7 separate regions of the Homo sapiens genome follow, and regions 2, 3, 4, 5, 6 and 7 are each linked to region 1. The links are contacts of gene promoters, found by promoter capture Hi-C in blood cells and fetal thymus (Javierre and others, 2016). All regions are on one chromosome and are shown on one strand. Each heading gives the region's core, a stretch centred on a gene start or on the middle of the fragment in contact. The rest is flanking DNA. Distances are from core to core; before and after follow the strand shown.

What was found. Contacts are between HindIII fragments. The CHiCAGO score rates a contact against its expected background, and 5 or more counts as called.
Region 2: a contact is called between the fragment with the promoter of TET2 here and the fragment with the promoter of PAPSS1 in region 1, in 3 of 17 cell types (total CD4 T cells, naive CD4 T cells and total CD8 T cells). The highest score is 6.1, in total CD4 T cells.
Region 3: a fragment that was not itself captured here is called in contact with the fragment with the promoter of PAPSS1 in region 1 in 6 of 17 cell types (naive CD4 T cells, naive CD8 T cells, non-activated CD4 T cells and 3 more); the score reaches 7.2 in naive CD4 T cells.
Region 4: a contact is called between a fragment that was not itself captured here and the fragment with the promoter of PAPSS1 in region 1, in 1 of 17 cell types (total B cells). The highest score is 5.9, in total B cells.
Region 5: a fragment that was not itself captured here is called in contact with the fragment with the promoter of PAPSS1 in region 1 in 2 of 17 cell types (non-activated CD4 T cells and naive CD8 T cells); the score reaches 6.9 in non-activated CD4 T cells.
Region 6: a fragment that was not itself captured here is called in contact with the fragment with the promoter of PAPSS1 in region 1 in 8 of 17 cell types (non-activated CD4 T cells, naive CD8 T cells, activated CD4 T cells and 5 more); the score reaches 16.2 in non-activated CD4 T cells.
Region 7: a fragment that was not itself captured here is called in contact with the fragment with the promoter of PAPSS1 in region 1 in 2 of 17 cell types (total B cells and naive CD8 T cells); the score reaches 7.0 in total B cells.

The regions. Positions count from the first base shown.
Region 1 is chr4:107,718,873-107,721,808 of GRCh38, reverse strand. It overlaps PAPSS1 (3'-phosphoadenosine 5'-phosphosulfate synthase 1), which reads left to right and starts at 1,575. Exons shown (of 12, transcript NM_005443.5): 1 at 1,575-1,689. The coding sequence starts at 1,630. RefSeq lists enhancers at 123-272, 2,263-2,322 and a silencer at 1,383-1,632. The HindIII fragment of the contact is 5,198 bases long and covers 1-2,936 here.
Region 2 is chr4:105,145,311-105,148,246 of GRCh38, reverse strand. It overlaps TET2 (tet methylcytosine dioxygenase 2), which reads right to left and starts at 1,371. Exons shown (of 11, transcript NM_001127208.3): 1 at 1,268-1,371. It overlaps LOC124900868, which reads left to right. Exons shown (of 3, transcript XM_047416559.1): 2 at 1,286-2,752. The coding sequence ends at 1,974. RefSeq lists silencers at 397-466, 1,430-2,109 and enhancers at 797-846, 1,190-1,359. The HindIII fragment of the contact is 4,110 bases long and covers 1,143-2,936 here.
Region 3 is chr4:110,192,823-110,195,758 of GRCh38, reverse strand. All of the region lies in intron 1 of ELOVL6 (ELOVL fatty acid elongase 6), which reads left to right. Among named protein-coding and RNA genes, the nearest start is that of ELOVL6, 4.3 kb to the left of the region's middle. The HindIII fragment of the contact is 1,138 bases long and covers 797-1,934 here.
Region 4 is chr4:105,476,086-105,479,021 of GRCh38, reverse strand. No RefSeq gene overlaps it. Among named protein-coding and RNA genes, the nearest start is that of PPA2, 3.5 kb to the right of the region's middle. The HindIII fragment of the contact is 4,302 bases long and covers 1-2,936 here.
Region 5 is chr4:109,825,313-109,828,248 of GRCh38, reverse strand. It overlaps RRH (retinal pigment epithelium-derived rhodopsin homolog), which reads right to left and starts at 277. Exons shown (of 7, transcript NM_006583.5): 1 at 116-277. The coding sequence starts at 221. The HindIII fragment of the contact is 1,891 bases long and covers 428-2,318 here.
Region 6 is chr4:109,730,750-109,733,685 of GRCh38, reverse strand. It overlaps a transcript of CFI not described here. Among named protein-coding and RNA genes, the nearest start is that of PLA2G12A, 2.1 kb to the right of the region's middle. RefSeq lists an enhancer at 2,622-2,936. The HindIII fragment of the contact is 3,342 bases long and covers 1-2,936 here.
Region 7 is chr4:105,702,665-105,705,600 of GRCh38, reverse strand. INTS12 (integrator complex subunit 12) reads left to right here. Exons shown (of 8, transcript NM_020395.4): 2 at 1,792-1,953. LOC124900748 (a long non-coding RNA gene) reads right to left here. Exons shown (of 3, transcript XR_007058215.1): 2 at 211-287. Among named protein-coding and RNA genes, the nearest start is that of INTS12, 4.6 kb to the left of the region's middle. The HindIII fragment of the contact is 1,625 bases long and covers 668-2,292 here.

The DNA.
Region 1 (2,936 bases), core at 326-2,825:
TAGCAGTGGGGCAAATAGATGGAGGGCTGATTTGCTAGTCACTAACAGGCAGCAGCCTCAGGTCTTGGTGATGGGGGCTGATTTGCTAGTCACTAACAGGCAGCAGCAGCAGCCTCAGGTCTTGGTGATGGGGGCTAATTTGCTAGTCACTAACAGGCAGCAGTCTCAGGTCTTGGTGATGGGCGGGGTCAGGGGCGGAGGGCGGCTGTGTCACAGGGGGGCAGAGCTGCAAGCAACTCTTTTGGTGCCAGGGGCAAGCTGCGGAAAAGAGAACTCAGAGTTATGGGGGGTGTGGGGAAGATAACTCCTGGAGGAAACTCTGTCATGCCCCCAGCCCATCCTCCTACGAACTAGCCCTGGAATAATTAGGTGAATTTGAAAATGTCCTCCGTAGGCGGGAGTTCTATTCGGGGTTACCTGCGGCCTCCCCGGTCCTGGATTTCAGTCCTCTAGGTATTTCCTGAGTAGCTCTTAATAATACAGAAGCCCCTTTCCGGTGTAGGTCGGTAAGAAGCACTGCACAGAAATCTGATGCGAAGTGGGGTCTCCTAGCGGAGAGGGAGGCACCTTATAAGTAATCACTAATCCAGGTTGAGATATTAATTATTGATGTCAAGAAATCGGGCTTTTATTATATCTTTTTAAAAACTGTGTCTTGAGGCCAGGCGCTGTCGCTCACGCCTGGAATCCCAGCACTTTGGGAAGCTGAGGCGGGCGGATCATGAGGTCAGGAATTCGAGACCAGCCTGGCCAACATAGTGAAACCCCGTCTCTACTAAAAATACAAAAATTAGCCGGGCGTGGTGGCACACGCCTGTAGTCCCAGCTACTCGGGAGGCTGAGGCAGGAGAATCGCTTGAACCCGGGAGGCAGAGGTTGCGGTGAGCCGAGATCCTACTACTGCACTCCAGCCTGGGCGACAGAGCAAGACTCCGTCTCAAAAAAAGAAAAAAAATTGTGTCTTGAGTAGAATTTTAATGTGGAGAATGAGCTGTTCGGTAAATCAATTCTTCCCTTTGCAAAGCTGTAAAACATTTAAAACATTTGGCCAGGGTGACATGGGCACAGAAGGGGCAGACAGGAGGTCGGCAGCCAGGTCTGTGGAGGAGTAGCCACAGGTGCAAGAGGCCGCGTCAGCGTCCTCCCAATCAGCCTCTGCTGAGGGAGTGCCGCGCGCGGCGAGCCGCGCACTCCCCTTGCCTTTCTCCCGGCGGCTGGTACTCGCTCTTAGAGATCTGCGTTAGCTCAGAGCTAGGCTCGGTGCCGCAGAGGCACCTGAGGTTCCACGACTGCATTCCAGGCCCCGCCCCTTCATCGGGATCTGGAAGGAGGAGCGCCGTGCGCGCCCGCGCCGGCGCGAGCGCTGAAGCTCCGCCCCCAGCTTCTACCTCCGGTTCTATCCCGGCGTTTCGCCCTTCCCCACAGACCTCTGCCCCGGACCCATTTCCGAGGCGCGCCGCATGCGCCGCGCAACCCAGGCCACGAGCACGGGCGCGTGCTTAAGTCAGCGCGCGCCCGCTCCGACGCGAGGAGGCCCCGCCCTCCAGCCCCGCCCCGCTCGCTGGCCTGCCCTCCTCTTGCTACCCTCCCGGCGCAGAGAACCCCGGCTGCTCAGCGCGCTCCGCGGTCATGGAGATCCCCGGGAGCCTGTGCAAGAAAGTCAAACTGAGCAATAACGCGCAGAACTGGGTAAGCTGGGGACGAAGGCGAGACGGCGAGGAGCGGAGGGGCTGTGGGAGCAGCTCGTTCCGGAGCCGCCGCCTCTCTCCCGCCTCCTCCGCATCCATCCTTCCAGGAGCGCGGAGGTGGGTTCCGGGGCTGCGGCGCCTCCCGGCTGGGGCCGTGGGTGGTTGCGAGGCAGAGGGGCGCGGCGCAGGGTGGGGATCTCGCCCTAGCTTGGCGCAGCGTGCGGTCCGAGCCACCGTTCGTGGGAAGAACGCCCCCCCTCCCCAGCGCCTCCGCTCAGGTAAGACCCCCAGGAAAATCCTTCACCCGTGAACTGGCGCTTGCTGAAACCTCCGGGTGCTGAAACCTGCGGCTGCAGAAACAGGAGCTTCCTGCATACCTTGGAGTGGCCTGAAGATGTGCAGAGAAGGCGGAGGCGGGCGCCTTCGACGCGTTCTTGGTTTTTCTTGGCTCTGCCAGTGCGGTTGGCCCAGGTTTGGGTCCATCTCCGTGTCTTTCCATTTCTGAGTTTCAGTGTGAAAGGAGAGTACCCAACAATGTGGTCATTCATGAGTTGAGACTGCCCTGAACTGAGGTTCTTTGTGTCTCTGTGTTAAATCGGAATGTTTAACAAGTAGGAGTTTGGAAGACTCCATTCCTGGTGACAGTCAGGTATGGGACCAGTCCTTTATAACGTTTAGTAATGACTGCCAGTTGACTTTGTAAAGTGCTGTGTCCTCATAACGTTGCTTACTTCCTTAATTTCTCTGTGATGAGAAAGAGCCTTATCTTCCTTTGTAAGTGTGCAGCAGGGAAGGGCCCATCTTTGGAGTCTGGAAAGGCACTGGTTTAAGTTTAGACGGAAACGTTATTTCACAGTCCAATGGAATAATAAGGTTTAAATGCAATGTCTCCCAAAACGTTACTTGCCCTAGATGAATCAAAGAAAAAAAAAACAAGCAATTTCAGGCAAATGTTCTTTGGAAGTCATTAATTTACCACATCTGTTGTTATTGTTATCATGAGTTGTTTACTGATTCCTCTCTCCTTTTATTTAACTCTATAGATGGTAAGGAGGGGAAGGAGATTTAAAAGATGAATTAGAACAGTGGAAAGAGCGCTGGACTCCTGGCCTGGTCTCTCATCCCAGCTTTGCCATTTACTAGCTGTGTGATCTTGAGGAGAGTCACTTTACTTTTTCGAACCTCAGTTGACTTAAGGGTATAATAGTATGTACTTCACGGGATTGTTTTGATGAACAAAGAAGACAG
Region 2 (2,936 bases), core at 122-2,621, 2.6 Mb after region 1:
TAACCAGCAAATAACACTTATATTTCATTTTCGGCCTTTCCAGGAGTCTATCCAGGCCACACTTCATTATGTCATAGGTAGAAAACTCTCCATACAAACCCTATTAGCTTAATAAAACTAGACAAGCAGTCCCAGTGAAAAGATTCAGCAAGATGCGAGTGAGGTGTGTGTGTGTGTGTGTGTGTGTATGTGTATGAGAGAGAGAGAAGAAAGAGTAGAGAGGAGACACAGAGAGAAAGGCAGAGAGATGAAAGACCAAAGAGAGAAGCCAAAGAGAAATTTGGATGGGACTGTTATAAATCTGCTCTTCACTTCTTTGCTGGGATTGGGTTTCATTTCTTTAGGCGCCCCTGACCTTGCAGTCTTGCAACTCCAACGCTGCGCTCCCCACCCCCTCCCGCCCCCTCCCCGGGCCTGCGCCTGCCTTTGTGTCTGCCTGTCACTTACCAAGGAACCAAACGAAGCTGATTCGGGAGAAGCACAAAGCCGGGACACAGATTTGTCCATAAATTCTCTTACATACATTCCCCAGGCTGGAAGGCTCAGCCCAGCGCTGACTTATGTACCTTGAGAAAAGTGAGTTCTGGTCTTGTTTGGGGAACCAGAGAAACTATTCTTTCCTCTTTCACTCAGCGCCGCTAACAAAACGCGCGGACTTAAGGAAAAAAAAAACCCACTCAGTGTACTCCAATTCCACTCCCTGTGACATTCACTTCGTACAGCCCCCTAAAGGGGGATAAGAAGGTAGGAGGAGGCAGACACAAACCCAGACCCAGACCCTACAGCTGATAAAAGGGTCGAAAAACACCCTATCAGTGTTCTCTCTGAGGTTGTTCAGGATAAACGGGAGACTCGTTTCACTTACACGAAAGAAACAGGGGAAGAGGATTAAAGGGAAAAGTAGTGCCCCCAAAGCTGAACTATTTTAGAAAGGAAAGCAAATTTAAAAATCACTTTTCTGAGGATTAAAAAAGGCCGGGAAACCGGCTCGTCGGAGGCACAAAGGTAAGTTTTCTGGGAGATGAGGGGACGAGCATTAGGAGGAGAGAAGAGAACACAGAACTACAGGTTTAAAAGGGGTAGAGGGAATTAAAACTATATTTGTCAGCCATGTTGAAGAGGCTCCAGTAATTTGTGAAGCTTCCCTCTTCCCTCTTGGTATTTGTGGGTGACACTACAGGGTTTGCTCCCCAGTCCCTGGAAGCCCGAGAAAAAGCGAAGGGGAGAAGAAAGGGAGAGTTTCGCGGCATAAGAGAAGCGCTCTGACCTCGTTCTCGTCCCTCAGCCTTGCAGCAATCCAGCAGTTGCAGTCGGGTCTCCTTTCTAACAAATCCTAAAGGGCAGCCATCTTGCTTCCTTCTGCTTCTCTACGAAAGCAGCCTAGCCTCCGCATCAATATTCATAAGGCAGTTTGACGTCTGTTCTCATCACTCAGCGGGGCCGGCGTCTCGGGGCGGCCGCGCCGAGGGGGCGGACGTGACTTGCATGCGAGCGGGACCCGGGCGCGCGGCGCTCGCGAGGAGGCGGCGGCGGCCGCCCAAGCTCTCGCCGCTGCCACTGCCGCTACCGCCGGCTCTCCTCCTCCGCCCGGGCCTCCTCCTGCTCCGCCCCGGCCTCCTCCCGCTCCGCCCCGGCCTGCGCCGCCGCCCTGGGGCCCTCAGCCCCGGCTCCCAGGGAATTAGCCCCCCGCACCGGGCGTCCAGCACAAAGGCCGGCGGCACCTGGGGCCGTACAGCGGGGCGCGCAGTGGAGACCTGGGCTGCCCTCACGCCGTGCAGTGGCGCGGGGGGAGTGGTGCGCCCGGACCAGCGCGGAGTAGGGGCCAGGGCTGGCGAGCGCGGGGAAGGGTGCAGCCCTCGGGAACCCCGGGGACCTCGGCGGGTCTCCACCCCTGGGAGAAGAAGCAGAGCAAGCGCGAAGGTTGGGGGCGAGGTGGGAGGTTGGGATGGCACGGGTGCCTGGACAAAGACGTGACATCTAAGATTTCCCTTTGAAACTTTTTGCTGGTCTGCACTCCACCACCACTTCGAGGTCCCGCGCACACGCCCCCGCGCGCACCCACCTCCTCCGGAGTGTACCCGCACGTGCCCTCGCTCTGGCCCCCGCCTCCACCCACTGGCACCTCTCCCCGCACCACACCTCCGCTTGCGCCCACCTTACCCTCAGAGGCCCGCGTCTCTATCTCCCTTTAGATCCCGTTGCCCGCGCTCTCCTTTCCCTTTTCTGTCGCTTTAATCTCATTCAGCAGAAGCGCTCCCCTGTTTCACCGAGGGCATGCCCTTAGTGCTTTAGGGGCCTGTATTTTTAAAGACCCGACAAACTGGGAAATTGACCGAGTTCTGTTTCTCCCCGCCCCGGCCCACCTTCTGTTTACTTTAGCCACGTGGGCTGAGTAGAAGGGGGCGTCTCACAGATTGAAATAGGTTTCTCACTAGTGACCCCCTACTTCTCGCTAGGAGGAAATAAACCTGCACTTTCAAATGCTTAAGTTGCCTCTCGTAAGAGCCCTTACTTTGAAGTAGTTTCCCCCCGTACAATTAAGTAATGAAGAAACCGACCGATACAGAGCTAATTCCGAATGACGGATGCTTGATTTTCCCTGACATTCGGAGCTCTGTAACTATGCTCTTCCTTTGACCGGAGTTTTTCTCTATTGCCGAGTAGTGTTACTTCCCCCTTCTAATGCTCCTTTTTCTAATCATCAACTTTTTATTTGAAGATGAGATGAAGAACAAAGCCCATATGAGTCATAGTAAGTATCATATTACGTCAGATAGTCGTTTTTGAAATATTCCCTTCATCTTTTACATGTTCTTACATGACTGACGTTCAAATTTTAAGTGGGTATTTTGGTCACATCTTTTATGGGATCACTGCATGGTGATCACAGTACCCTTAAGTCAATACTAGTTATATTGTGTAACCACACTTTTTTT
Region 3 (2,936 bases), core at 116-2,615, 2.5 Mb before region 1:
TTTTATTGCCAGCACTACTCGTTAATACCCGAAGGTTAACAGGCTAGAACTTGCATACCGTGGCAGAGTCACATCTTGGGATTTTTCCCTTCCTGGCTTCTGCTCTCTGTTGATGTTATGTTCTTAGATTGCTTATTGCAGTCAAAGAACCCTGCTGGCTGTTACCCCTCCCTTGCAACTCTTCCTGACCCTAATTGTCTTACTTTCATGTTTTTTTTTAAATGCCAGATTTTGTGCATTTCTCCCAATATCCCAGGGTGCCCAATTTTATCTCTCCTCCCTCCCCAAAAACTGTACAGCCAAAAAGACTTTAAACACTTTTTAAAATTTAATTTTATTAGCCGGGTGTGGTGGCTCCTGCCTGTAATCCCAGCACTTTGGGAGGCTGAGGTGGGTGGATTACCTGACGACAGGAGTTCGAGACCAGCCAGGCCAATATGGTGAAACCCCATCTCTACTAAAAATACAAAAAAATTAGCCGAGCGTGGTGGCGGGTGCCTGTAATCCCAGCTACTCGGGAGGTTGAGGCAGGAGAATTGCTTGAACCCGGGAGGTTCAAATTAAAGCTTTTAGTTTTTATTTTTAATAGAATCCAGCTAATGCAGGACAAAAAGTCTTGAACCAGATTTTCTTTTCACTCCCTTTTTAATAGGAGAAGGGAACTCCATAACCAAGGCTTAGACCCTCTTGAGGAGAGAGGAACTTGAGGAAACCATAAAATCTTACCTTTTTCAGACTCATTAACTTAAAATGGTTTGAAATAGCTTCTGGAGGAAAAACATGATATAGTGAAGCTTCTACTCTGTCTTTTGGGAATTTATGGTTGTCCTTATAAATCTCTTCTTAGTAACAGGCAAAACTTGTTAATTTAGAGAATTAAAACATCCTCTCTCAAAAGTGAACTACATTGGCTTTTGAAGAACTGTGAGAATGGCCAGGAGTAGTATTTTGCCAGTATGCTGCCTTTGCTAACTAGCATCATTTAAGAGGACCTAAAATAAGAATACTTTATTAAACATACGCTATAATCCATACTTACTAACCATAGCGCAAATTAATGTTAACATACCCTATAATCCATACTTACTAACCATAGCACGTGTTAATGGAATGGGGCCCGACTTTTGGAGTAGCATTTGTATAAACCCTAAAGGGTTCAACTGAGGCTAGTTTTCAAGTTTATTGCTGCTTTAATGAATCATTAACCTCATACTCATTGGCCTAGCCATGAAAGTAAATACTGCAGACTTTTTTTACTTTGCTAGCAAAAAGTTTCATATATAATAGGTTAGAATAGCAATTGAAATGCAAAGTAATAAGTGTATTCCCTTGTAGAATCATCCTGGGCCTCATCTTGAAACTACATGTCCAGTGAAAAATATCCTGTCTGGTTATATTATCTGGTCAATGAGAGTTTATTACATGAGGTAGAGAAAAATGTCTGCTCATAGGTCCAAATAGGAGTTTTGAATTCTAATTTTCACTGAAAAGTCCTTGCAATTTTACAACATTGAAAATAGAGACATTTTGCTCTTTTATGAGATGTCTGGCCTTTACCTGTTTTTCTCACTAAGAGCTGACTTAAGTTGGAAGTGCTGCTAGCCAGGGAGCAAAATCACCTGGTGATTGCTAAGGCGACATATAATTCATTGAGTGAGAAGGGAAGCTGGGCTCTCTCTGCCTTCTCTTTCAGCAGCCTGCCAGGTTTGTGCTAACAGCAGTGGATGCTAGTTGCTCCAGTTGTAATTGTCTAGCCAATGATGATTATCTTCTGATGTCGGCTGACACGGTGCCCACCAATAGGAAAGCAGGAGGCCTGTGCTGACTGCTGTAACATTATGTATGTGAGGTGACGTCTTCAAAGGGCTTGCCTAGAACTTCATGAAACCCTCCCCCTCTCCTGGCATTCTCCACACATCCAGCCTTTCAAAGCTTTATATATTTTTCTGACTTTTCTCCCCACTCACTCCCTTGGTGGTGTAAAAGGGTTTACTTGTTTTAACATTTTGTATTCTGTATTATAGAGTCTATAAGATAGTATAGGAATTTTAAGAATTAAATGCTGTTCAGCTGAGGAAGCCTTTTTATTCACAAATTTGTTTTTACCAAAGGTAAAAATGGAGTGAAACATTTTATTTTATTTTGTTTTATTTTTGAGACAGGGTCTCACTCTGTTGCCCAGGCTGGAGTGCAGTGGCACAATCTTGGCTCACTGCAACCTCTGCCTCCGGGTTCCAGTGATTCTTATGTCTCAACCTCCCAAGCAGCTGGGATTACAGGTGCCTGCCATGACACCAAGCTAATTTTTGTATTTTTAGTAGAGATGGGAATTCACCGTGTTGGTCAGGTTGGTCTTGAACTCCTGACCTCAAGTAATCCGCCCACCTCGGCCTCCGAAAGTGCTGAGATAACAGGCTTGAGCCACTGCAACCGGCCGTGAAACATTTTAAAAGGAGTTGTACATCTATATCTTTTTTGTAGGTGAAGTTTGGAAAGTAACACGATGTACAATTTCATGATTAAAGAACATAAAAAGCACTAAAAACCTGTGTTAGCATTTAACTCAAATATAGCAGCATAAAAAATATAGCAGCATAATGTTAATGAAACTGTTCAAATGCAGACATAGTATTTGGCTGTTGTTTTTCATTTAGTGAGGATTGCTTTGAATTGCTTCCTGAAGTCTTCCTTGCAACCTTCTACATTCATTTGTAAGAAAAATGGCTGGAAAACAGTGCATCTGTGACTATGGAACAGAGTAGGCCAGAGTTTCATTTCATCATTAACATTGCAGCAACAAATTTGGTCAGCTCTGTAGGAATATAGTGTGTCTATATTGTACTCATGTCACTTGCTGTTTATTTTGAGGTATCACAGTTCATATTGATTTAGGATTAAAACTTGTGTGAGGATCATAACATGACATTCAATAATTT
Region 4 (2,936 bases), core at 241-2,740, 2.2 Mb after region 1:
AGTACATTTATTATAATCAAACCTACATTGACAACTCATTATTACTCAAATTCCTTAGTTTACATTAGGTTTCATTTTTGGTGTTCTGCATTCTGTGGATTTGGACAAATGTATAATAATATATATCCACAAGTAGAGTATCATACAGAGCAGTTTCACTGTCCTAAAAATTCCCTGGGTTCCATCTATCCATCCCTCACTCTTCTCTAACCCCTGGAAACCACTGAGGCTTCTACAGTCTCCACACTTAAACCTTTTCCAGAATGTCATACAGCTGGAATCATACAGTATGTAGCCTTTTAGATTTGTTTTCTTCACTTAGTAATATAAATTTAAGGTTTATTCATGTCTTTTCATGGCTTAATAGCTCACTTCTTTTTAGTGCTGAATAATATTTCATTGTCTGAATGTACCATAGTTTATCCATTCACCTAATGAAGGACATCCTGGTTGCACCAAATTTTGGCAGTCACAAATTAAAACTGTGTGTGTGTGTGTGTGTGTGTGTGTGTGTGTGTGAGATGGGGATTTGTGTACAGATTATTTCATCACCCAGGAAATAGTGCCTGATAGGTAGTTTATGGGTTTCACCTTCCCATCCACTCTCCACTCTCAAAGAGGCGCTGATGTCTGTTATTCCCTTCTTTATGTCCATGTGTACTCAATGTTTAGCTCTCACTTATGAGGACATGCAGTATTTGTTTTTGTTGTTGTTATTGTTCCTGCATTAATTGATTTAGGATAATGGTTTCCATCTGTGTTGCTGCAAAGGACATGATTTCCTTCTTTTTATGGCTGCACAGTATTCCATGGTGTAGCTGTACTACATTTTGTTTGTCCAGTCCACTGCTGATGGCTTTTCGCCTATTTTTTAAATTGGTTAGTTTTCTTTTTCTTGAGTTTCAACAGTTCTTTGTATATTTTGATAATAGTCCTTTATCAGACACATATTTTGCAAATATTTTCTTTCAGTCTATGACATGTTTTCTCATCTTGAAGCATCATTGTTTTAGTAAGAAAAATAAATTAACTACAGCAATAAAAATACACACACACATACACACCTATACACATTTTAAGGCCTAAAGTTAGTCAAGCTCTTATAGTTTCATTGAATTGTGAAAATAATTTTATCAATAGATAATTGCCAGTATTTAAATGAGAAATGGTATAGAACTGTGACATGTATTTATTAGAAAAAAATGTGGTTGATGAATATCGGATGAACATGAACTTTAGGTAACATTCTGAAATATTGTGGAAATCTTGTAATTTGACAAATATTTTAAATGTTTGGTAATGTGAAAATTATTTTTAAAGTCTCCCTTGTGGTTAAAGTCTTCCAAAGGCTAGTGAAATATCAGTCTGTGTGTCTCTGAACTGATTAATTAGAAAATATTCAAAATTGTTTTAAAATTCTCATTACTTCTATTGCATACTGCTCTATTTCTTTCCCCCCACAAGCTAGCTATTGTGAGCAAAGATGAGCAATTAGCAAATTTCTTAATTTGCTTATTTATCATGTTGTAGGTAATAATAATAATTCGTTTTAGGGACATTTACTGCTTTTATAAAAGTAAACACATAAATGAGTACTCCACAATTTCAAAATTATTTTATTTTCTATTAGGATAATCTAGCATTGCAAAAAACAATAACCATAATCATGGTAGATTTTGTGTTATGCTTACCAATACTAAAAACAGAAACAGAACTGGAATTCACTAATTATATAATTTTTCTCTAGTTCCAACTATTATCTTTACTGCAGTTTCACAGTTGTGGTAGTCACTGTGATGTGCCATGGCTTAATGAACTTTTGCTGAACTGTTGGGAGTACAGGTAACAAATAGCATTTATCTGTCAGCTTCTTCAGGGATGGCCATAGCTGCCTTGTCCAAATCATGTCCTTTCCCAGGTCAGCTTATATCCATCCAATCATTGAGGTTATAAAGGCCCGTCAAATTGTGCTCTCCATTGGACAACTGTAACTAGCCTTTTAAACTCCAGGGTATTCTATGAGGTGGGCTGAGGCTATTGGGCTTGCACCACAGCTCGACTTCTCTCTCAGCTCTTTTGCTTTCTTACCTTCATCTTCACATACTGATCCCAAGTGTACAGCCTAATAAACACTGCACACACATACTAAATTCAATCTCAGAGTCTGCTTCTCAGAGAATTCCAGTGGTGAAAATAGTTCCATCTCCAGCAGGAACTCTGCATTGTTTCAAACTTAACATGTCCCAGCTACGTTTATCATCTTAGTGTCAAAATTTCTCTCTCATTTTTATTAACATATATCTGAAAATAACACCACATATCTCTTGGTTATTTATTATGCATAATTTTTTTTAACTCTTCCATCCTCATTTCACAACTTCCAGTGAGATATCAAATTTGGTCATTTCTTCCAAATTCAACATTCCTTTCTATTTCTATTGCCAGAACTACTGTCTGGGTCCTTGTCACTTGGTACCTGAGATACTGTCAATACCTGGACACCGTATCTCTTATTTTCTATTCTGGTCCTTCCTACATATTAGTTATAGTTTTCCTGAGCCACCAGTTTCAATTCTCTGTTGATGAATCTCTGGTGGTTTGGTATTTCATAAACTCTGGAAATGTTATTTCATGATTTTATGTGTATTTGTCTTTATTCTCCAACTTGTAAACTCCTGGGACTAAGACTTTTACTTGCTATATGATGACAACAGGAGATGTCAATAATGGAAATCCAACGTGTTAGACTCCAAACGTCTAAATTTGAATAAGTACATAATTAAACATTATGTAATAAACATTACCCTCAGAGTATTTTTAAAAAGTTTTAAAAGCTAACCTGATACCTATTATTATTTCCTATCATTTATATTATGCATTTTTAATTTTGATTCTCAAATATTCCAGTAAACTGTAGAGAATGAAAGATGGAAATT
Region 5 (2,936 bases), core at 124-2,623, 2.1 Mb before region 1:
GACTTGTCAAGGTTGGCCAATAATATGGAACTTGAAACAATGCATGCCTTATGCTGAAAACTTCTGCCTTTCTTCACCCATTCTAAAGAAAAATAACTTACTTAAATATCCATACCTGCCATAATCAAGTAAGTTGCAACAATATTGTGTTCAGTCTGTGAAAAGACCGAGCCATCTTCATTTTTAGAGTCTGAACTGTTGCCTAAATTATTTCTTAGCATTTTGGAGGGAAGATACCGAAACACCCTTCATAATAAGCCTTCGATAATTATGAACTGCTTTATGAGCTACTGAGGAAAGATTTTTTAGGACCAATCATTTCCACTTAGAGACCTCAAAGAAGGGCCTTTTCATAGAGGCCCTCCCTTAACAAATTTAATTGGGCTAAAGAGGAAAGGACTTTAATTCCCAGAATAAGGGAAAAGCTTATTAGCAAAACAAAAAGAAATACCAAGCACCACACATTTTAACCTATTTGGGCATCAGTCTTCTATCTAAGGAGATTATCAAGCACACACATCCCATTTAACAATAAACAAACTCAGGAAATCAGTATAGGAGCCAGCCTTAGTCCTCTAAAACTATTCGGATTAAGGTCCCTGTTTTCTGTTGACCATTCAAGTCTTTCCATTTCGGCTCCTTTTGTTGTTTTTTTTTTCTTAACAATTTAAATATTAGTGACAAAGAAGTAGTCTCCTTCCTACTTCCAAATCTCACTCTCCTAAAGGTACCAGTATTGTTTGGTGCATATCCTTTCTTAGGCTTTTCTCTGCTTATACACATATTCATACAAGTGTTTCAGGTTTCCTCCACTTTCTTCTTGTAAATAAAAATGAGGGAAAAAAATAAGTACAAATGTATATATATAATGCAACTTGTTTTCCCATAAGGCTGTATTATAATATCCAAGTTAATAAACCCAGAATCTAATAAAGTCTAATTTATTAGTAGCTATGTATTTCATAGCATGGATATAATATGATCAACTCCACCATCCGTTAATTTCCCCTATAGTTTGATATGCACATGAGTAATTAATATTATCTGATGATAGTAATCATTGTATACTTTGCCAGAGTATCTGAATTCAATCACTGATATTGTAAAGTACAGAATAAAAATATTCTGGATTATCACATTACAACCTGAAAACCAACCTGAGCATGTTTTGTTAGAATAATAAGGTATCCCTATTACCTTTTTTCCCATATTCTTTATGCCATTAACATTATTAAAATCTGATTCTCCTCAGTTTCCTAAAATCAGTAAACATTAGAGAAATGCTTAGATGCACCAAAGTTAACAGTGTAAGCATAAAACAGAACCACTAGAGGGCTATATTTACCCACTTAGTTTAATTTTATAAAAATCCTAGAATGGCACAGCAGAAACCTAAGATAATCCTTTTGCTTCAGTTCTCTTGCCTGTGTATAAACTCAAGATGAACAGGTTGATTTATCTGTCCCAAATCTTATAGCTACCAGTACTCACATTTTTATAAATGTAATATTGTTATACCTATACTAGAAAAGCGAATCTCGTCAGTATTGTTTTCAAATGACCCTAGAGCAAAAAACATAATACCCAAGAGGAAATCACTCCCTTTAAAAAGTCTTTGTCTTTTCTTTCATTCAATATGCAAAACAAAACTTAAAATTTTTGAATTTGCTTTGGGTCATACTACCTTCCTTTTCTGTAATAAGTTATACCTAGTTGTAGCATCCATGAAAAATTTTCCAGAAATAATTATTTCTAAGAACTGAAAAATATATAATTTCAGATAGTCAGCTTTCTGCTGCAGATGAAAGTTTTGATATGAGTGAGGTAGGTGCATTTGAAGTTCTTTTTTATGCTTCCTTCATGGGTGATACAGAAAAGCTATATTGGGATAAGGCTTAGAAATACATGTGAATTTGATTCAAAATGAAATGCCTCAAAAAAACCCAGAAACTAGGCCAGGCGCAGTGGCTCACACCTGTAATCCCAGCACTTTGGGAGGCCAAAGCAGGCGGATCACCTGAGGTCAGGAATTCGAGACCAGCCTGACCAACATGGAGAAACCCCATCTCTACTAAAAATACAAAATTAGCCGGGCATGGTGGCGCATGCCTGTAATCCCAGCTACTTGGGAGGCTGAGGCAGGAGAATCGCTTGAACCCGGGAGGTAGAGGTTGCAGTGAGCCGACATTGCACCATTGCACTCCAGCCTGGGCAACAAGAACAAAACTCCGTCTCAAAAAATAATAATAATAAATAAACAAATAAATAAACCCAGAAACTATAAGGAAAAAAAAGGAAAAGATGTGGAAATAAAAGCTTAAAGATGGACAATGAAAAAAAGATATACATAAGCTAAACGGTAAAATTTCCAACTGGTTTGTCTACTGATCTATATGTTATTTCCATTATTGCCATTTTAGATTTATTTTTAATGTTAAAAAAACAAACTGTAGAAATGTTGCGCTATTATTATTTGTCCTTGGGACAATGCCATCACCCTTTGGTGCTTACTAACATCTTTTCCAAACCACGAGCAAAAGCCCTGGCCCTAACACTCCATGAAAATTTCATCACCACAATTCCAAATCAAATAATCTCCTGTCCTAAGCTGTAAAAGCATAACTGCCTATTCCTGTAAAAACTGTAATTTTCAACACATTTGCTCATCATATATATTAATGGCCTATGTATTTATTCATCCTGCTGCAATTCCATCAATCAGAAAAAGATAAAACCCCAAATACTGACAAAGACAACACTGTATGCTCCTCAAATGAGCATTCAAGAGCGTTCCTCCATGGGCATGTTAGAAAATTTAACAAACGATATAGAAACATCATTCCTTTTGAGAAGTGAAAAATGAATGGCAGGGTAAATGGCTCCATATCATGGCATTCTAACTTGCTACCACAGTCATTTCTTTACATCCACTAGCA
Region 6 (2,936 bases), core at 310-2,809, 2.0 Mb before region 1:
GCCAAAATTTCAATGCCATCCTTGATTCCTCTTTTTCTCTCATATTCAGTCCATCAGCAAATCCCTTCTGCTCTACCATCAAGTTACATCTAGAATATGACCACTTTTCACACCTCCACTGCTCCTTTCCTGGACCAAGCCATACTTATGCCATACCTAGATTACTGTATCATAACTGACTTCCTATCTTCAGCTTCTGCCCACCACAAAGTATATATAGACAAGCTAGCCACTCTCTAGCAGGAAAGACCTGGAACACAGCTGTGGATTTGCAACTAATGATGTCTGTCATGAAAATAACAGGTTTTGCTGGTTAGATGAAAGTGTCCTGTAAAGAAGGCTCTTTTCAAACAGTTTATGCCAAAATTTGGGAAGAAAAGATGGAAGTGGGTCATCTAGAAGTTACGTGAGATGAGCTGGGCACAGTGGCTCATGTTGTAATCCCAGCACTTTGGGAGGCCAAGGCAGGGGAATGACTTGAGGTCAGGAGTTCGAGACCAGCCTGGCCAACTTGGTGAAACCCCATTGCTACTAAAAATACAAAAAATTAGTCAGGTGTGGTGGCGGGCACCTGTAATCCCAGCTACTCGGGAGGCTGAGGCAGGAAAATAGCTTGAACCTGGGAGGCGGAGGTTGCAGTGAGCTGAGATTGTGCCACTGTACTCCAGCCTGGGCAACAGAGCCAGACTCAAAAAAAAAAAATTTATATGATATGGTAAATCAGAGCATGCATCCTGTGTAGTGGCACAAGGCCCCACAGTCAAAAGGGCTCTGTACTTATTTTAATGCTCTGCTGTTATCACCTTGAAATTCTTTTTTTTTTTTTTTTGAGACAGAGTCTTGCTCTGTGGCCTCGGCTGGAGTGCAGTGGCACGATCTTGGCTCATTGCAAGCTCTGCCTCCCGGGTTCACGCCATTCACCTGCCTCAGCCTCCCGAGTAGCTGGGACTACAGGTGCCCGCCACCATGCCCAGCTAACTTTTTGTATTTTTAGTAGAGACAGGGTTTCACCGTGTTAGCCAGGATGGTCTCGATCTCCTGACCTCGTGATCTGCCCATCTCAGCCTCCCAAAGTGCTGGGATTACAGGCGTGAGCCACCGCACCCGGCCATCACCTTGAAATTCTTAATTTTTGAGCAAGGGGCTCTGTATTTTTATTTTGCACTGAGCCCTACAAATTATACAGATAGTCTGTGGTCAGTGCAGATCCCTGGTATTTAACAGCATCAATTAAGAGGAAAACGTAAACCTTGTAATTACTGCAGCAGAACAACAAATATATAATGATTAAATGTGAAAAGAATGTGAAAATAAAACTTAGAGTCTTGTTTTCTACAAAAATGGTGGTGATTCTCATGGGGAAGACAGTGGAAAGATTTGCTTGAGAGAAAGAGAACAGCTGCATCAAGCCAGAAGAACTGGCATTTGAGAATTTAATCCCTAAGGAGAGATCAGACAAAGAAAACTACGTCTGATTCCTCAGAGTATAGGCTGTAGTTAAGGTGTAAGAAATTAGATGAGATCACAAAGAAGTAAATAAATAGAGAAAGTGGGGGAAAGGAGAGGCTTTGGGTCATAACTGAGGGCTGGAACTAGGTTATTTTATTACATTCTATCCTTTCTTTTGAAAGTCTTGTCCCTGGACTAGGGAGTTGTAAGAACCAAGCCTGGTTTAAGGATTCAGGTGGTGGTATCTCAGAGGTAATCTAGTCCAACTTTCATACTTTGGAGCTGAGAAACCAATGTTCCAGAAAGCTAAGACAATGATTCTAAGTTCCCTTTTTAAAATGTATTGAAATGTGTTGTCTAAAAATTAAAAAATAAAAATATCTGTGGTATTTTGTGAAGACAGAGGCCTTGGTTTGGAGTAGATACTGTCACATGACTTCTCACCTCGACTCTTTTATTGTAAAAGAGGAAGATAATAATACCTTCCAGGGAACATTCTTCCCCCTTCTCCATTGTGGTAGGAATTAATCACTGCCCAAGACTCCTGGTTGAGGGGCTGAGTGAAGTGCAGGCAGTCTCCAGCCAGGAGCTACACCGTTTGTTGGGCTACCCTGTTTGTAGGGAGGAATGCCTTTCTATGTTTCTAACTTGCCCAAAGTCTGCATCCTTGTAAAGTAGTGTTCTGAATGTGAGCGATCATATTCATGAAGTGCCTGGCACATAGTAAGCACTCAATAAAGAGGGATGTAATTTTTATGAACTGTGCACTGAACGTTTATTATAAGCTCATTTAGTTTGTAACAAACACAAAAGGCCAAACCTAGAACTTATTGGTAATTCTTATAGAAAGGACACACCTATGCCCAATACTTACTCACTTTCTTTTTTTTTTAGAGTCTCGCTCTGTGCCCCAAGCTGGAGTGCAGTGGTGCAATCTCAGCTCACTGCAACATCCATCCACCTCCTGGGTTCAAGTGATTCTCCTGCCTCCGCCTCCCGAGTAGCTGGGATTACAGGTGCCCGCCACCACGCCCAGCTAATTTTCTGTATTTTTGGTAGAGATGGGGTTTCACCATGTCAGCCAGGCTGGTCTCGAACTTCTGACCTCAGGAGTTCCAGGCCTCCCAAGGTGCTGGGATTACAGGCGTAAACCACCGCGCTTGGTCTGCCCAATACTTTCAACATTGCTCTGGATCTTACTGTAAAATTCTTGGAAACTGCTGTGATACTAAGATAACCAGATATTTACAACTGATACAAAGTACTACTGCAATAGTTATTTATGGATCCCGCACAATGCTGGGGGCAGGGTGGTAGGTACAGAGAAACAAACGTCACTGTAACTATCAAGTTACAAAATCCCTTGAGTAGAAAAACAATGACTTCCTTAAGATTTATTTTACTTTTTACTGTATTTAAGTTTACACTACTGTTTCTTCCTTACCAGGGGAGAATTTTATGATTTTTATGTTGGCCCATTTTCTTTT
Region 7 (2,936 bases), core at 231-2,730, 2.0 Mb after region 1:
ATGAGTGTCAACTATGTGTCAGGTACTGTTGTAACTGCTTTATATGTATTATTAATCATGTAGAGCAATGGTCCACAACCTTTTTGGCACCAGGGACCAGTTTCATTGAAGACATGGTTTCAGGATGATTCAAGTGCATTACATTTATTGTGCACTTTATTTCTCTTATTACTACATGGTAATATATAATAAAATAATTGGACAACTCACCATAATGTAGAATCAGTGGGAACCTTGAGCTTGCTTTCCTGCAGCTAGACGGTTTCATCTGGGGATGATGGGGTATACTGTGACAGATCATCAGGCATTAGATTCTCATGAGGAGCACACAACGTAGATCACACACATGCACAGTTCACATAGGATTCGCATTCCTATGAGAATCTAATTCCACCAGTGATGTGACAGGAGGCAGAGCTCAGGTAGTAATGCAAGTGATGGGAGTGGCTGTAAATACAAATGAAGCTTCCCTCGCTTGCCTACTGCTCACCTCCTGCTGCATGGCCTGAAGGTTAGGGACCCCTGATGTAGAGAATTGGAGACCTTGTTAAGAATCTTATTCTTGAACCTTTGGATTGTGAGAAGTGATAAAAGGATTTTAAGCAAGTGAGTGATATGAAAAGGTTTAAAGGGATGACAAGAGTGATTGTGGGAGACTGATTAAGCTTTTGCAGTGGGCCAGATAATAGATGATGCTAGGTTGGTCTAGGGTGGTAGTAGTAAGGATTGAAAAGGGTGGATAGATTTGAGGTATGTTTAAGAGGTTTGGTTATTGAATTGGGGGTGGGAATTAAGGAAGTGGGAAGAGTTAAAGCTGCTTCTGGGTTACTGGCTTGGGCAATAGGGTAAATATCATTTGAAAAAGGGATTACTAGAGGAAGAACTGGTTAGGAGAAAAGGGAATAGTGTATGAGTGGCTCTGTTGGAGACACGTTGCATAGGAGGCACCAATGATATATCCATGTCAAGCTGGCAGTTGGATCTTGGGAGAGACACATGGACTGCAGAGATGTATTAGTAATCACTGGCAAAAGACTATATAGATCAAATTGTCTAGGGCAATAATTCCCAAACTTTAGAGTAGATAGAATTGCCTGGAAGGCTTAACACAGATTTCTAGACCCTACTCCCAGAGTTTTTTCTTCAGTAGGCCTAGGAATGGAGACCAAGAGTTTGTATTTCTAAGTTCTGACGTGATACCTATGCTGCTGACTCAGAGAACACATTTTTGGAAGAAGATGTAGAACAAGTCAAGAAGAGACCCAGAACCTAGCACTGAGGAACTCATTTTTAATTGGATAGGAGGAACCTACAAAGATGACTGACAAAGAAGTAGGAGGGACAATCGTATGTATTAGGTTTACCTGACTGAGGCGGCGAATGACTCATGAGAGCATTTTCATGGAATAGTGGGACAAAGGCTGAATTGCAAGAATTGCTGTGTAAATAGAAGGAATGAAGAAAAAGAGTACAAAAGCATATGATTTCTGAGAACGTTTTGCTATAAAAGAGAAAAGATAGAAGATGTTTGAATATATTTAATGTCAATGAAAAGATGCCAGTAGAAAGGCTGAAAAAAAAAAAAAGAAGATATGGGAAATAATCCATAGGCCAAGGTTCAAGAGGGGACAAGAAGAGATAGGATCCAGATCCAGGTGACACTACATAGAGAGCTACCTTCTCCTTTTTTATCAGATGGGAAAGAGGAAAGGATGAGTGCAGGTAAGTTTGTAGATGTGCTGGAAGGAAGTCGACTTAATTCCTCTCTGACAGCCTCTCTTTGTGAAGTAGGTGAGGCCATCTACTGAAACACAGAAGCAATTTTAAAAGAAAATGGAGGAAGTATAACTGATCTTTGCAGAAAGTGGGGAAGTGAGTTGACCAGAGAAGGATGAGAGAATTGCCAAGTTGTACTGAACGCCAAGCTGAGAATGGTGATTCTGAAGATAGAATGTATGTATATTCCTCCCAGTTGCACTTAGAGTTTGGGTGCAGGCAGAGAGAGAATGGCTAGCAGGGTGGATGTCTATAAAGTAGGGAAACTACAGGGCTTTCGGGTGCCTAGAGTACTGAAAGAGGTATTGAAAGGGTGGACCACAGAATGTGAGCTGGATAGGAAGTAAACGGCATACTGCAATAAATCAAGGATAATAAGAGATACAGAAAAAAGATCATTGTTCAGTAATGGCGATTTTTGTGCTATATGCATTTGACACAGCTAATTCCCAGCATCACCTAAGAATTCACTCCTATCAATACTACTACTACCACTTCCCTAGGTCAGCGAAAGCTTTAAAGTGGTAAATATTAATTTTCTCACATTCTCCTTTTTGAAAGCAACATCTACTTTTTAAATGAAACCTACATTTAATATATTAAATATCTTTCATATATACATTTTTCTTTCATACACACACACAGGACTTTGTTTTCTAGAACTCTAATCCATAGTAAGAATGATATGGCTCTTTTGCAGTCTGTTTTGGCCATGGGTTTAGGAATGAATATACAGGAAAGGAATTGTATAGAAGTAACATGATTTGGTGTAACTCCAGGAAAATATTTTTGTATGTGTAGATCAACACAGTTACACCAAGTTGCTGACCTCTTTATGACTGCTGTAGAAAGTAAACTTCTTTCACTATATGGATATTTGCCGGTAAGGAAGGAAAAGTAACAGAGATTAGAGAAGGCAACAGAAAAGGGGGAGTAAAGGTAAGATAGAAAACTAAAATATAAAATATAAACCACATAACCATAAGTGTTTTATTTTAGGTTCAACTACTGTTTTCTGTTTGGTGAGGAAACAAAAGTCAGGGCAAGAGGGTGCCAATAAGGAGAAAGCAGAAGGGACAAGAAATTGGAGGCTTCTGTAACAAAGAACAAGTAGAATGGGAATAGAGAAATGAATAAATACAGAAGAAAGATTGACTTGG